Regions from separate parts of the Homo sapiens genome. Here region 2 is linked to region 1. The links are contacts of gene promoters, found by promoter capture Hi-C in blood cells and fetal thymus (Javierre and others, 2016). All regions are on one chromosome and are shown on one strand. The core of a region is centred on a gene start or on the middle of the fragment in contact, and the rest is flanking DNA. Distances in the headings are between cores, read along the strand shown. Region 1 holds the start of GPR45 (G protein-coupled receptor 45). Region 2 overlaps MRPS9 (mitochondrial ribosomal protein S9).

Evidence for each region. Contacts are between HindIII fragments. The CHiCAGO score rates a contact against its expected background, and 5 or more counts as called.
Region 2: a contact is called between a fragment that was not itself captured here and the fragment with the promoter of GPR45 in region 1, in 8 of 17 cell types (total B cells, megakaryocytes, naive B cells and 5 more). The highest score is 8.3, in total B cells.

The regions. Positions count from the first base shown.
Region 1 is chr2:105,240,175-105,243,456 of GRCh38, forward strand. It overlaps GPR45 (G protein-coupled receptor 45), which reads left to right and starts at 1,569. Exons shown (of 1, transcript NM_007227.3): 1 at 1,569-3,282. The coding sequence starts at 1,685. The coding sequence ends at 2,803. The HindIII fragment of the contact is 10,787 bases long and covers 1,358-3,282 here.
Region 2 is chr2:105,096,505-105,099,786 of GRCh38, forward strand. MRPS9 (mitochondrial ribosomal protein S9) reads left to right here. Exons shown (of 11, transcript NM_182640.3): 10 at 651-820; 11 at 3,166-3,282. The coding sequence ends at 3,257. MRPS9-AS1 (MRPS9 antisense RNA 1) reads right to left here. Exons shown (of 4, transcript NR_110227.1): 2 at 2,744-2,796; 3 at 1,695-1,758; 4 at 548-894. Among named protein-coding and RNA genes, the nearest start is that of MRPS9-AS1, 4.8 kb to the right of the region's middle. The HindIII fragment of the contact is 2,516 bases long and covers 369-2,884 here.

The DNA.
Region 1 (3,282 bases), core at 319-2,818:
TTACAAGAAGAGGTGCATCCAACAGCCAGATGTCCAGGGTGGATAAATGGCGCAGGCTGGATTTCCCCCAGCCCAGGCGATGTGACTTCAGACCTGAGCTACTGAACACACTCTTGCCACATCAGTGAGACAAAATTAAAATTATATTTATCTTTTTGAAAGTGAAAGCAAGTTTATCAAGAATGTAAGGAATAAAAGCTCATTTCATTTACTTTTTTTTTAAGAGACAGGGTCTCACTCTGTTACCCAGGCTGGAGTACAGTGACACCTTCTTAGCTCACGACAGCCTCGAACTTCTGTGCTTGAGCAATCCTCCTGCCTCGGCCTCCTGAGTAGCAGGGACTATAGATGGAAGCCTGGCTCATTTTTTTGTGTGTGTAGAGATGGGATCTCTCTATGTTGCCCAGGCAGGTCTTGAACTCCTGGCCTCAAGCAATCCTCCTGTCTCTGCCTCTCAAAGTGCTGGGATTATAGGCATGAGCCACTGCACCCAGCTAACATTGTATTTTAAAAGGCCTTACCTTTGGGGAAAGTTCCCTTCTCCCAGTCTGTGCTTCCAGAAGTAATAGTATAGCAGCCCCACAGTTATCCAAGATGTTACCATTAGGGAAAACTGGGTGAAGGACACACAGAATTTCACCATAGTATTTATTATTATAACTCCATGTGAATTTACACTTATCCATGTGAATTTACACTTATCAAATAAAGTTAAACAAACAGACTTACAATTTCTTTTAAAAAATTAAAACTTAAAAATGTATACTTAAAATTTGCTAAGAGGGCAGATCTTAGGTGAAGTATTCTTACCACCAAAACAAAATGATAATACTAGAAAAATGGCAGGAGAGAGCTTTGGCAGGGGGAGTGGGATATGTTTTTGGCCTTGGTGGTGATGGGTTTCTGGTATATTGAGATGTAAATTTGTACAGCTTTTGACATGTCAGTCATTCCTCGATGAAGTGGGGTTTTTTAAAGCTAAACAAATATTATAGCAGCAGCATCAACTATCACTTATTCATCTACTCAACAAGCATCCAAGTGTCCTCAACAAGGACACTTACTGCATGCCAGCCACTGTTGTCAGTACTGGGAGATAGCAGAGAATGAAACAAGCAAAACCTTTCTCTTGTGGAGCAGGATTCTAACGTTAGTTGGCTAGACCAAGGCTTCATTCCGACAGGTTGCTGAAAACTCAAGTTATTACATAAACACTAACTACAAAGTGTACTTCCTCAGTTTCCTCAGAAGATAGCTGATTAGGTTTTTCTGGGCTGCTTGACAAGACTCAGACAGTATTTGTGAATATCAAGCTTTGTCCCACGTGGTAAATAAACTTGTTTAGAAACACCTGTAAAGCTTAAACGCGTGCTTTCTTCAACGCGTTTGGAAACTCTAACCCCCTTCTCTTTTGTACTTTTGCTTGCTGTCCACTACAGAGGGTCCAAGCACGAAGCTGTGCACAGAGTCGCTCTCCACAGAGATGCTTAGGATGTGATCCATGAATCGCAAATCCCAGCTAGTGCTCACAAAGACGGACATTTCTCCCCAAGACCATTCCAGTGCCCCAGAGGTCCACAGACATCCAGGAAGATGCAGCCAGCAGACAAAGAATGGCAGCCACCCAAGTGCTGAGGGGAGCCCTCCCGGCCATTTCTGTCCCAGCTCCAAGGGTCTCTCCACGATGGCCTGCAACAGCACGTCCCTTGAGGCTTACACATACCTGCTGCTGAACACCAGCAACGCCTCAGACTCGGGGTCCACCCAGTTGCCCGCACCCCTCAGGATCTCCTTGGCCATAGTGATGCTGCTGATGACCGTGGTGGGGTTCCTGGGCAACACTGTGGTCTGCATCATCGTGTACCAGAGGCCGGCTATGCGCTCGGCCATCAACCTGCTGCTGGCCACCCTGGCCTTCTCCGACATCATGCTGTCCCTCTGCTGCATGCCCTTCACCGCCGTCACCCTCATCACCGTGCGCTGGCACTTTGGGGACCACTTCTGCCGCCTCTCAGCCACGCTCTACTGGTTTTTTGTCCTGGAGGGCGTGGCCATCCTGCTCATCATCAGCGTGGACCGCTTCCTCATCATCGTCCAGCGCCAGGACAAGCTGAACCCGCGCAGGGCCAAGGTGATCATCGCGGTCTCCTGGGTGCTGTCCTTCTGCATCGCGGGGCCCTCGCTCACGGGCTGGACGCTGGTGGAGGTGCCGGCGCGGGCCCCACAGTGCGTGCTGGGCTACACGGAGCTCCCCGCTGACCGCGCCTACGTGGTCACCTTGGTGGTGGCCGTGTTCTTCGCGCCCTTTGGCGTCATGCTGTGCGCCTACATGTGCATCCTCAACACGGTCCGCAAGAACGCCGTGCGCGTGCACAACCAGTCGGACAGCCTGGACCTGCGGCAGCTCACCAGGGCGGGCCTGCGGCGCCTGCAGCGGCAGCAACAGGTCAGCGTGGACTTGAGCTTCAAGACCAAGGCCTTCACCACCATCCTGATCCTCTTCGTGGGCTTCTCCCTCTGCTGGCTGCCCCACTCCGTCTACAGCCTCCTGTCTGTGTTTAGCCAGCGCTTTTACTGCGGTTCCTCCTTCTACGCCACCAGCACCTGCGTCCTGTGGCTCAGTTACCTCAAGTCCGTCTTCAACCCCATCGTCTACTGCTGGAGAATCAAAAAATTCCGCGAGGCCTGCATAGAGTTGCTGCCCCAGACCTTCCAAATCCTCCCCAAAGTGCCTGAGCGGATCCGAAGGAGAATCCAGCCAAGCACAGTCTACGTGTGCAATGAAAACCAGTCTGCGGTTTAGGGGGTCAGGGGGCCACAGAGAAGGGGCAGCTGAGCCCCAGTCCCAGGGTGGATCTGTCCTGCTCTGTTCCCTGGCATGTTGGTCATAGTCTGCACTTTGTGGTGGCAATTTAAGCACAAAGGTACTCATTTGTAATCAGATGAGCTGCAGCTCCCAAATTTCAAATTTTGGCACGATGAATTATTTTTGTTTCTCTTTGCAGAGAGCCAAATATGGGGCTGATGGGAACTGCAACGTCATTAAGTCAAAAATGGAGTGGGCTGGGGAGTGCAGAAGTTGGGCAGAAAGGGAGGAGGAGGGCAACAGGGAATGAAGCTGGTTGAGTGTGGGGCAGGAGGACTGGTCAGTCACAAGAGCTTCAACCTGCCCTGCGAGCCCTCTCTGCACCTGCTCAAGAGAAACCCTGAGAAACCCCAGTAGGTGTGAGCTCCTGGGTGTTCATTCATTTTGTTTGACACCAGGGTTCTTCAGCTATTGAT
Region 2 (3,282 bases), core at 377-2,876, 140 kb before region 1:
TAGGCCCTGACCGACCCTGAAAGAGCAGGCCTGACAGGGGTTGTGTAGAATGTCACCTGGCCCCAGGAAGGTAGCAGGACCCTATGATTTAGAGAACTTTAAGAATATTGGGAATAGGTGTTTGGTGTCAGGGAAGTGCAAGGTCGAAAATAGTTTTAGAAACTTTAAAAACTAACCATATCAAGATGAGCATTATACATTATACAGATACACTTATAGTAGACTTTATTTAGTGAATCCAAATGACATGTGATAATTGTTTGGAAAGGCCTATTGATTTTATATCTGATCATTCAATCCAGAGACATTAAATTCAGTTGATTAATGGAGTTCCCCAACTGTAAGACTTCTTTACGAGATTATTTTCAAGCTTTGAAAAGATCTTCTGAGATAAAGGGGATCAGCAAACAGTAAGAGTGTGTTGCTATACCCAAGCAAAAGAAATAAATCTTAATCTCTCAGCAAATCATTCAAAATGTCAGAAATGTTAGTGTTTCTATATCTTGGTAAAATGGATTGATTGAGAAGTATGAAAAGTATAACAGTGGCATGCAGAATATTGTTTTTATGAATATTCAGAATTTCAGTTGTTTACATAATTATGTATCTTTATAGTAAACGTAACCACATTTACTTGTGCTGTGCTTTAGAGAACAGCTGATGTTCCCTTTCCACTTTGTTGACCGGCTGGGAAAGCACGACGTGACCTGCACAGTCTCAGGGGGCGGGAGGTCAGCGCAGGCTGGAGCAATACGACTGGCAATGGCAAAAGCCTTGTGCAGCTTTGTCACCGAGGACGAGGTCGAGTGGATGAGACAAGGTATGAGTCTAGGTGGGACGGGCATGGTGGCCCAATACTGGCTATACATGTTCATCTGCTTCTTGTCCTAGTGCCTGAAGTTCGTAAGAAAATATATAGTTACATATGTAATATTTCACTTCGCTGTCTTCTTTCTTGCTACAGAACCATAACAGTATTTCTCAGATTTGATTTCTACAAGGTGAGCTTGAATTAGAAAAAGGGGAGAACTCCCCACACTGATTATTTGAGCCCTGCTAAAATGTTCAGTTCCAAGGTCAGGGAAAAGTTAATTTTGGCCTTAATGCATAACCTTTTATCCAGCTTAACAAAGTGCTTAGCTTAGTTATATTTAAGAGACAAATTGCTTGTTTTTGTTTTATCATAGAAATGTGTGGGTTTTTTGTTTTTGTTTTTTAAACAGTCTCTCTCTGTCAGCCAGGCTGGAGTGCAGTGGTATTATCATAGCTAGCTGCAGCCTTAAACTTCTGGGCTCGAGCAATCCTCCTGCCTCGGCCTCCCAGGTAGTTAGGACTATGACATACACTCCCAAACCTGGATAATTTTTGTATATTTTGTAGAGACTGCATTTTGCTATGTTGCCCAGGCTGTTCTCGAACTCCTGGCCTCAAACAATCCTGCCTTGGCCTCCCAAAGCACTGACATTACGTAGCATGAGCTACCACACCTGGCCTGTCATAGAAATTTGTAATAATTATTTGGTTAGTGATAAAGTTCTTTGGGTATTTTGTTTTTGTAAGTTATTGGAGGTTTCCATTTTTTCCCATTGTGGTGTTTGAATTTTCTTTTACCCTACTCTGTGTAACCCTGTTACCTGGGCATGAATACAAGAGTCCCTGTGTAATGTGAAAAAGGATGGGCAGTTGATTCTTACCTTAGACTACTGCTTTAGAAGTTGGAATAAATTGGGGAAGTTTGAGCTGAAGACCATCTTCGCACTGTTGATGAGAAGAGGAAAGCACCATGTGTGCTATTGGCGGCTGCATGGTCGTGGGCAAGTCACTTAGCACCTAAGTCTATAAGCTCCTCCTCTGGGCAAGTAGGTTGGTCTCTGTGCACCAGACCTTCTAGTACAAGCCGCTGAGGTTCAATAAAAACACTACCTATGGCTTAGGCTACTTAATTGCTTAAGGCTCTTAAAAATCCATTTGCTTATAAGCAATTTGTCATCATATGGGATTCATATCTAGTCATTGAAGTAATTTGCTAGAATCTTAACAATTTGATGAGTTTGAGCTACTGTGCATATCTGAAAGTAATAAAGCATTCTTACTTACAGTTGAAGCTAGAACTTAGGTCTTTTCTGTATTTTGTCAAATACTGCTGTTTTATTCCATGCATGTCCTTTAAGTACAAGCAAGTGTAAATGTTATGGGTATATCATAAACAAGGTTTTCCTTTGCTCTATGTACATTAAATGGTCCTTAATAAAATACCCAAGCCTTGTATACAGTAGGAGGAGTGCTAACGTTGGAAGAGTGAAAAAGACAAGGAAAAAGTATGGTCCATTTACATATTTATAAAAGCAATGTAAGAGCTTTCCCATCAGTGGTATTCTTGGAATCTATGGTCTTTACTAACTTACTATAGCTCCAGCCACTGCTGGGGCTCTTCCTTATGGGCCATAGCTAAGAGTAACCCCAGCAGTTGCCTAGAAACATAATCACTCCTGATGATTGGGAGAATGAAAGTTTCCCGTTTAAACTGACTTTATTCTTCTAGAAGAAACTGCCTGTGCTGAGAATACAACTCTAAAACTTATTTTTTAGATTCTAAAACAAAAAAACAGGGAATATTATTATGGCATAAATTAAAATAATGAAAGTTTCCTTTTTTAAATGTTTGACAAGTCATATTTGTGTGTATATGCATATTCATGTAAACTGTTAATAGATGGTATCTAAGTACTTTCTCATACTTCACCTTTACAGTAAGTTTTTCTTCTCTGCCTCTTGTCTCCATTAAAACTCTGTCCTCTGCAATAGTAAGTGTGCAGGTTAAGTTCCCTTACAGTGAATAGTGACCGCCCACACAAGAGGAGCTTTATCTCACTTAGGTTGAGCAAGCTTAAAAACCAAAAGGGAGCCATGATTCTTATAATTTAAGGGAAGCAGGTTTAAATAATGTAACTTGTGTTTGTCTCAGAGGTTGGAAAAATATCCTGAAAGAGTGGAAGCAAACTGCCATCATGAGGTTGATACTGGGCTGGTAAATTATTACTGGTCTGGTTGCTTTCCTCTAGTTTTTTTTCTCAGACAACAGTACCTATAAATTTATGAACCTGCTTTTCTTCTGGGCAGCATGCATATTAATGGTTCCTAAAGGCTTCTCTTTTTATGCTGCAGCTGGACTACTTACTACTGATCCACGTGTGAGGGAACGGAAGAAGCCAGGCCAAGAGGGAGCCCGCAGAAAGTTTACGTGGAAGAAACGCTAAGGGTTTGCTCCCAGGAAAGGAGAGG